3 separate regions of the Homo sapiens genome follow, and all the other regions are linked to region 2. The links are contacts of gene promoters, found by promoter capture Hi-C in human tissues and cell types (Jung and others, 2019). All regions are on one chromosome and are shown on one strand. The core of a region is centred on a gene start or on the middle of the fragment in contact, and the rest is flanking DNA. Distances in the headings are between cores, read along the strand shown.

The links. The method cuts DNA at HindIII sites, captures the fragments that hold promoters and counts their contacts. A contact is called where the count stands out against the background at its distance.
Region 1: a contact is called between a fragment that was not itself captured here and the fragment with the promoter of GNAI1 in region 2, in 2 of the 25 tissues and cell types used here (dorsolateral prefrontal cortex and stomach).
Region 3: a contact is called between a fragment that was not itself captured here and the fragment with the promoter of GNAI1 in region 2, in 2 of the 25 tissues and cell types used here (IMR-90 fibroblasts and hippocampus).

The regions. Positions count from the first base shown.
Region 1 is chr7:80,243,589-80,246,749 of GRCh38, forward strand. LOC107986743 (a long non-coding RNA gene) reads right to left here. Exons shown (of 3, transcript XR_001745025.2): 2 at 2,833-2,914; 3 at 1,943-2,043. It also overlaps the pseudogene RN7SL869P. Among named protein-coding and RNA genes, the nearest start is that of GNAI1, 110 kb to the left of the region's middle. The HindIII fragment of the contact is 6,730 bases long and covers 1-3,161 here.
Region 2 is chr7:80,133,534-80,136,487 of GRCh38, forward strand. GNAI1 (G protein subunit alpha i1) reads left to right here and starts at 1,298. Exons shown (of 8, transcript NM_002069.6): 1 at 1,298-1,745. The coding sequence starts at 1,628. The HindIII fragment of the contact is 3,503 bases long and covers 1-1,490 here.
Region 3 is chr7:80,219,635-80,222,483 of GRCh38, forward strand. GNAI1 (G protein subunit alpha i1) reads left to right here. Exons shown (of 8, transcript NM_002069.6): 8 at 1-2,849. Among named protein-coding and RNA genes, the nearest start is that of GNAI1, 86 kb to the left of the region's middle. The HindIII fragment of the contact is 7,127 bases long and covers 1-2,849 here.

The DNA of each region.
Region 1 (3,161 bases), core at 626-3,125, 110 kb after region 2:
AGGTCACAGCCCCTTCTAGGGACAAGGCAGTATGCAGTGACTGGTCATCTGGATCCCCTCGCCAAAACTCTCAAGGATTGATTGTCTAAGCTTCAGAGCTCCCTGTGGGTTGCTAAGGACTTTATTGAGATTGCACAACAACACATTTTTTCGGCTGCCCAGTCCTGTTTTCCTCTATTCCTTCTCACAGGTGTTGATTTCAAGAGCAATTCCCCCAAATCTTCCTGCACTCAAATCTCCATCTCAAAAAATATGGTAGGTTCTGACTCTTATAATAAGGTTAGTGAGAACTAAATTCAATATTAATTATTGAAAAGTAAAAAATTACTAATTTTTTAAAAAATGCGGAAAATGAACAAATGTAAAAACTCATTGAATTCCATAAGGGGATCAATAAAAGATCAATTAATAATAAAACCTTTAATCACCCCATCTCAACAATCAAAACCTTGAAAATGTAACGGAATAATTTTGAATAGCAAGTAAAAGTAAAACATCATGATAATAAACTTAAAAAGAAAAGTATGTGATATATAGAAAATAAATTTAAAATTTTAAAAGAAGAGGATAATGAGAAGGAATGTCTTACCCTACCATTGAGCAAAATGTCATATAAACCTACGGTAATTTTATCAATTTATTATTGGATGAGGAATAAAGAGGTTATGAAATAGATGAGCCTAAAAATAAACTCAGGCATATATAATTTAGTTTGTGCTAAAAGTAGCAATTTATATAAGTGGGGAAAGAAGAAACTGGTCAAGAACAGTGTTGAAATGAGTGACTAACCATTTGCAAAACATTAAGTCAGATTTTTAAGTCATCCCGTCTAAATAAGGTTAAGCCTTAACTTTCCACTTGAGCCTGTGATTCCCACTCTTCCTGTCCCCTCTGTAACCTCATACAATTTATTTTTCTCATATATTTTTCTGTATCTCCTGTCCCTCCCCCTCCATTCTGTCAACATGTAAGCATCCTTAAGCCTTTTCTGTCTTAAACAAACAACCAACAATAAGGAAATAAAACCTCTCTCAACCCCTCTAGCTCTTGGAGCTTCCACCGTATTTCTTGCCTCTTTTTGACTGAAACAGCTTCCTATTGTTACTCTCTTGGCTGCTTCTCCTGCAGTCACTTCTGCTTATAGCAGCTTGTTGTTTGGCCCCATGTCTTAGACTCAGTCCCTAGAGACAGATTCTGAGACAGAGAATTTGGGCCAAAGGGTTTGTTGTACATGCTCCTAGGAGATGCTCTAATAAGGACACGAGGCAGGCAGGATTAAACAGGGGGAAGGAGATCTCCAATGTGTTTCCTCCTGAGGCCTCAGTTGATCCTGTGGGGAAGGACTGGAATTCTTCCAATTAAGACAAATCTCCTCACCATACAGTCATTGACCTGGGCTGCCTCTTGCATGGCAGTTCTGCAAATGGGGGCACCTGCCTCTGACGGATGGCAATTCCCAGAGAAGGAATGAGGTAATTGGCTCTACAGAGAGGGTCTGTATAAGCAACATAGTATGCACTACACCTAAACTTTGAGAGGTTCACAGCTACTTCCTTCCTAAATTCTATCTTCCTACCAGGGCAAAGCTTTCCAGGATCCTGATTAGTCTTGTTTCCTGGGAAATTATGAAAAGAAGTGTCAGTTGGATGAACTACAGCCCCTGTTGCTGCAGCTGATTTCAAAACTATAACTGATACCATCTTCCTGTACCATCCATTGGAGGTTCTCCTCTCCCTCAGCTCACACTTCCATTGATCTAGGAAGTTTGCCTCATTAGGTGATGCACACCATCATTCTTGAGCAGTATGAGCTCCTGGTTGCTATTCTCAGGCCATGGCAGATGTATTTTCCTATATAGGATTAAAACTGGGCATGGCAGCACCAAAGAGGCCCAAACATATCCCATCCTGCCCTCATGGGGTAGCAGCTGCCCTTCCTCCTCCTGAAGACCGTATCAATTACCTCTTCCAGGGTGGTGCCTCCTTTCCTTCCCTGCTGGTTTCTTGGCACAAGGATTCTGGAAGACTGAATAGCAGTAGTAGTCTAAAATTCAATGGTACTGTTATAGGAACCAGAATTTCCAGACATGTAGAATCTAAAACATATAGGGGAAAACGCCAATTCCCTCCAAGTGGATCACTGGGTGTAATGGTTTCCAGGGCCACTACAACTTTAATCTTTCAGTTCCCAAGCCCTTGAATTCTACCTTTGGGGAACAAAGCTCCATATGATGATTGTTGATTTAGGCTGTATGTGACACCCTGGATGGTGATGCCCATTCTCATAGGGTATCCTTTCTAAGCTGGCACCTCAGCTAGGCTTTTAAGAAGCCAATCTGCCAGGTGTGGTAGTCCACACCTGGAGTCCCATCTGCTTGGGAGGCTGAGGCCAGGAGCATAGCTTGAGCTTCTGAGTTCTGGGCTGTACTGTGATATGCCAATTGGGTGTCCACATTAAGTTCAGTGTCACCATGGAGACCTCCCAGGAACAGGGACCAACAGGTTGCCTAAGGAGTGGTGAACCAGCTCATGTTGGAAATGGAGCAGGTCAAAACTCCTGTGCTGACCAGTGGTGGGATCACATGTGTGAACAGTCAGTGCACTCCAGCCTGGGTAACACAGAAAGACCCCTTTCTCTCTCTCTCTCTCTCTCTTTTTTTTTTTAAAGAGGCCAATTTATCTCTACCAAGCTGATTGCTTCTGAGTTGGGCAGGATATCATAGGAACAGTAGATCCCTTAATCTCAGACAGGACCAGGAGTAGTGTGAGGCAAGAGGGTCCCCTAGAATGCAACATTTAAGGAGCCACTCAATCTCAGGTTTGTGCCACTTACCTCAGGCTGTTTCTCGTTCCATACAAAATGGCTGACCAAGTCCATTACTGGGAGCTCTGCCCATCCAGAAGTTTTCCTCTCACTGTTGATGAAAAAAGTCAAACTCTCTAAATAGTTGAAGAGATTTATTCTGAGTCAAATATGAATGACCACTGGCCTGTGACACAGCCCTCAGGAGGTCCTAAGAACATGTGCCAAAGGTGGCCGGGCCATCGCTTGGTTTTATCCATCTTAGGGAGGCATAACGCATCAATCAATACATGTAAGATGTACATTGGTTTAGTCCCAAAAGGTAGGACAACTGGAAGTGGAGGCTTCCAGGTCATAGG
Region 2 (2,954 bases), core at 48-2,547:
AGCCCAGCAGGTGGTGTGACTCCCATAGGAGAACAGGAAAGGACATGTCCCATAAGGAGGCAACTCAGTCTCTGCTAGCTCACAAGCGTGGTCTCAGTGACCTACTCGAAAGCTATTCTGCTTGTATCATCAGTTCAGCCTCACCTTGGAAAACTCAAGCCCAGTTTTCCCAAATGATTTTTAGAGAATAAGATTTCCAGATGAAAACCAGGGAGCATGTTCCAATTTTTAGTACATCAAGGACCATGTTTTTCCTTGCTACCAGCCCCATTTTCTAATCAGTTAACGCTTCCTGTGATATCTGTAGGGGAAAGGTGTAGTGCAACTGACAGGGAGAGATGAGATCTTAAGCCTCTGCTCATTCATTGGGTGCTGAGTAGCAATGCCTCCCGCGGGCCACAGGAACTTATCTCCGCCGATTGTTACAGCTGGAAGGATGGGGAGATAGCACCATAGATCCACTCCTCATTTTATGGGCAAAGAAGCTAAGGCCTGTAAAAATGGCATGCCCAATGGTACAGGAGTTACAAACACGGTCATAAATATTGGCTCCAAATTTGGCATGGAAGCTTATGTGCTGCTCTAGAGGAGATCTGCTACGATGTGGAGATTGGCTTGTGTGGGTGTGTTTTATTGCTCTTGTCATTTAAAAATACTTTTGATTATTTGTCTTCCATTTTTTTTAGGTTACGAGGAAATCCTTCAAAATGCGTTCTTGTGAAAAACGTGAGAGTGCAAGGAAAGAGGGAGGGATAGGAAGAAGGAAAGAGAAGCAAAAGGTAGGAAGAAAGTGACCTTGGTGCCCTTTTCTAGTCCCCTCCCCCGACTTTCCTGTTCTCCACTGTGCCCATCTCTGGTTTCACCAGGCTCCATTCCTTCCCCAGTTCCCTGTTTCTCACGGCCCTGAAACCAGCCGACAGGGATTTGCATTTTGAAAAACCTTGCGTGGCTGCCGGCGCTGGGCATGCTCAAACGCCCAGAACTGGCTTTTTTCGGCAACTTTGGCAGCTCTCCCACCCCCACCCGAAGGGGCAGGTACGCACAGCTCCCTCCGTGTGAGTAAACGGAAAGAAATTACCCCACTCCCGCCCAGGGCAGAAGGCCACAGCCCCGCGGGGCAGTGGCGCGCCCCGGGGACGCTGCCAGGGGGCGCCAGGCCCTCAGTGGTGGCGCGGCGCCGGGGTCCGGGGCCGGGGGGCGCTGTCCGAGGGCACGTGCGCGGGCGCGCGCTCTGGGAGTGGTCGCGGGGTGGTGGGAGGGGCGGGCAGGGGCGGGGCCGCGGCGGCGCGCGGAGGCCGAGCTCGGCTGGGCTTGGCGAGGCTGCGGCGCGGCCACCGGCGGGAGTGCAGCGGCCACTGTACCCAGAGATTCAAAACCCCAAACCCGGGACTTGGGGGCGCTGAGCCGGGCCGGGAAGCAGAGCCTGGTCGTGAGGAACAGCCGCCCGTTGCTGTCTGCCCCTTTGCGGACAGCGTCTCCCTCGACTCCGCTTAGGAAGTGGTGGGGGCGGCGTGGCCCCCGTCGGGAGGCGTTCGAACGCCCGCTAGGAGAGAGAAAGGATTCCCCTGTGCTTGGAGCCCGCACTCGGGCGCGGAGGGAGCGGCGGCAGGCTCTCGCTTTCGGCACCATGGGCTGCACGCTGAGCGCCGAGGACAAGGCGGCGGTGGAGCGGAGTAAGATGATCGACCGCAACCTCCGTGAGGACGGCGAGAAGGCGGCGCGCGAGGTCAAGCTGCTGCTGCTCGGTAAGGGCGGCCGGGTCGGGGCCCGGGGGTCGGCGGGGGACCGGGTGCGGCGCTGCGCGGCCCTCGGCGTTTGGAAACCCGGAGGGAAGGGGGAGGAAGCGCCCGAGGAGGCTTCTGAGCGGGAGCTGGGTCCGGCGGTGCGGAGGCAAGGCGGGTCCCCCTCTCCCGGTGTCTGGTCTCTCTCCGCCCCGGCGGGCGAGGACTCCCCGCGGCGGGGCGGGCGCGTCACTTCACTCGGATGCTTTCGTGCGACCCAGCAAAGAGCCCAGGCGCGAGTCCGAGGCGGCGGGTCGCGTGGAAACCCTTTGCTTTGAAGTTTAGCTCAGCCTTGTAAAGATGAAGGGGCATTCGCGGCTAGAAAATGAAAACACCCCCCCCCCCGCGCCACCAACCCCCTCCCGGAAAACCCTTCTTCGTGTGCGGTGTAGGTTGTGTTTCGACTGTGGTTTTCTCATGCCCAGAGTGCCACGTTTGGTGAAATCAGTGCACCTTTTGTGGGGCCTCTGAGATGGGGCTGAAGCGTCTTTCCTGTTAACTTCCTATGGCGACTCCTTAAGTGGTCAAGGAGCGCTGATTACATTCCCCCTGCGCTGAGAAAAGGCTGCGCTGGATGCTTGATTTTTCTTGCTGTGGGGGCATGGAAGCCACCCAAGTGGGGTTGGGAAGCTTTGCTTTAGTAGTAGGCAAGGCAGATACTCGAGTGGTGAAAACTGCTGTGAAAGAGCGAGAGGGTCACGCCAGACAACAGGGTTCTGTCTCCGCTGCCACCGTTTCTGATGAATGAGATTTGCCAGGTACACGCAAGGCTTTTATTTGTTCTTAGCACTGTTCTGTTCGTGAAACGCTACGTGGAGGTCTTTTCCAAATGTTTGACGGGGAAGAAAATAAAGAGTAAACCAGGGTTTTCACTGAGGGAAGCATTAGGAAAATCTTTACAGGTTAAGATTCGTGAGTTAGGGTTTTCTTTTGTTTGCATGTTTTCTTCTCACACTCTAGGTATTTAGATAGATGAAAAATTTCTCAGAATCTTCATTTGCATTTCCAAGGACTGCTTGTATTTTTATACCAGTTATAATAAAAAAGAAATGTTGCACAAACCTGTTTTCAGTAAGCTTCTGTTTCATTGGTTTAATGACTGCAGAAAAAATGGTGGGTTTTTTTTCTCCATTACTAGTAGGCTTGGGAGCAGCAAAGTTGGCATGACTAAAA
Region 3 (2,849 bases), core at 309-2,808, 86 kb after region 2:
CATCATTCTCTCCTTACACCAGTTCTCACCCTGACTTTGCCATTTTTCCTTACTAAGTACCATCATCATTTATTCCTTCAATGGGGAACTTTTTAGTTTAAGTTCTGGGATACGTGTGCTGAACATGCAGGTTGGTTACATATGTATACATGTGCCATGGTGGTTTGCTGCACCTATCAACCTGTCATCTAAGTTTTAAGCCCTGCATGCATTAGGTGGAACTCTTCTGATTCCTAATCTCCATTTCAATTTACTGACAGTTCTACAAAGCCTTAAATCTGTTTTTTGTTTGTTTTCCTTTCTATTCCTACTACTACCTATTCAAGTCTTTGCTAAACTTCCTCTTAAAATGGCATTATTAGTTAAATTCCCCACCTCCCATTTCTCTCTTCTCGAAAAACCCAGGTTAGTTATCCTAATGTAGAACTGTGGCCCTATCACCTTCTATTCCTTGATCTGCATTGGCTCTGATTTGTCAATAAAATTAAGTATAAGTTAGCCTGCCATTTAATGCTCTTCATCACCTGAGGCCTGTTCCTTTCTACACTGTATCCAAATAGTGTCCTGTGCATAACCTGGGCTTTCCTCCAAGTACTGTATTACTTACTACATGTGATATGCTTAGAGCAGTGCCTACAATGTGGGAAGTGTTCATTTGTGTCTGTCAATGTTATTTTTATTAGCACTTTTAAAATGGTGTGTAAAATGTATTGGCACTTTTAAATTTGGCACTTTTAAATTTGTTTGTGATACCTCTTTTAGACTCCTCTGGCATCTGTTCTTCAGGGTGCCCTTCTGGGAACTACATGATTCTGATAGAGCTGCCAATCGCATTTCTTACTTCTCCGTCTCTAGGCTTAGACCTGACCAATCCGAGTCCTCCAGCATTGGACGAGTGAGCCAATCATTGTCCCAGTTGCCATTCTTAAAGTCCCTAAGGCGCTTGTGGTTTCTAAAATTCTCTTCATTTCAGTAACCTTCTAAAAGTCTACTTTTTTATGCCTAATCTAGTTTAATCGAATTCAGTTTGTTACTGAAAAAGTACTGATTAAAATCCATATGTTCTCATTGAATACTGACAGTAACTAGAGATCAAAAAAGGCTTAAAGAGGTTAATTAACTTGAGCAAGACCAGATGAAGGTTTTAAACCTAGAGCTTCTGACTCCATGTCTGTCAGAGGACCCCAAAGATGCTACCTTATTTCCAGAAAATGTGTAAGTAGTGTTTCGCCTATCCCCACTCTGCCCTTGAGTTCCTCTGAGCCATAATAGTTTTTCAGATTTAAAAAAGGAGATACTTATTAATGTCTTTCATCAGAGCTATTTTTTACTCCTTAGATGTGAAGCTACTTAAGAGCACAGTTACCATTTTTTACATCATTTGCCGTTTGCAGAACCACCTTATGTAAATGAATTTAGTTGATACTGTAATCATTATTACAGATGGTAGCATCATCATTGCTTAGTGTGTTATGTTGGAAGTAGAAAGTGATGGTGAAAATCCTAGGCTCTGGCACCCCGTCTGGCTTCAAATCCTGGCTCAATTTCTTATTAACTGGGAAAATCTGGGCAAATAATTTAGTTTTGCTCTGCCTCCATTTATATCATCTGAAAATAAATAAGGATTAAATAATCCATTAATTTTAATGGTTGTTGTCAGCATTAAATAAGTTCACAGTACATGTTAAGTACCTAGAGGGGAGTGTGGAATGTATAAGCCGTCAATACAATTTGCTGTTATTTGATTATAAATAATAGTTTTAAGGTGCCTTTAAAATCATAATCAGTGCTTAACAAATGGTTGTTGATACGTGCTTTGAATGAAATGCCTCAAAAACAAAACTCTCATAATTCGTTTTCATAATGAAAACTAAGTGTCTCACATATTGATACTGGAAAATGAGAAAATGCAATCTCTAATCAACTTGAGGACACTTCTGTCGTTTTAATGTAACCAATAGTATGAGAGAGTTTATATTTTAATGTTAGGTTGGAAATTTTCTTTTTTTTTTTTTTTTTTTTTTTTTGGTATGGAGTCTTGCTCCTTCACCAGGCTGGAGTGCAGTCGTGCAATCTCCACTCTCTGCAACCTCCAACTCCATGGTTCAAGCAATTGTCCTGCCTCAGCCTCCCGAGTAGCTGGGATTACAGGCATGCGCCACTACACCCAGCTAATTTTTGTATTTTTAGTAAAGGGGGGTTTCACCATGTTGGCCAGGATGGTCTTGATCACCTGACCTTGTGATCTGACCGCCTCGGCCTCCCAAAGTGCTGGGATTACAGACGTGAGCCACTGCGCCCAGCCAGTTTTCTTTTTTAGTTCTTTTCAAAACCCTTTCTTAACAGTTGAAATGCATTTATATAAAGAAGTTTACGTTTCACAATCCCACTGGCCTGTTTCCCAGGCATTTTTTTAAACCAATTACTGTTTGCTTTGGTGTCTGTTGTGATTTCTCTTATTTAGTTGGATTTTGTAGTTACTTTAAAAGTTACGAAATTTCACATTTCATCAAGTCCAGAGGCCAGAGACACCCAAATATGCACAGACAGGAATCAGCTGCAATTGTCCAAGCCAGAGCTGATTAGGCCTCAACTGGAATAGTCCCACCATGTAATAAATCTTCCTGAGTATTGTGTATAAGGTCAAATATTTCCAGCTTCTTTGATTTTACTGCCCGTCTTCCTAGGTCTCCATCCGTAAAGTGGATGGAAACACTGTCATTGAAGGAGCTAGTTCTTCAAATTTAATTTTTTTTTTTTTTTTTTTCCTGAGACAGAGTTTCGTTCTTGTTTCCCAGGCTGGAGCGCAATGGTGCGATCTCGGCTCACCGCAACATCCGCCTCCCGGG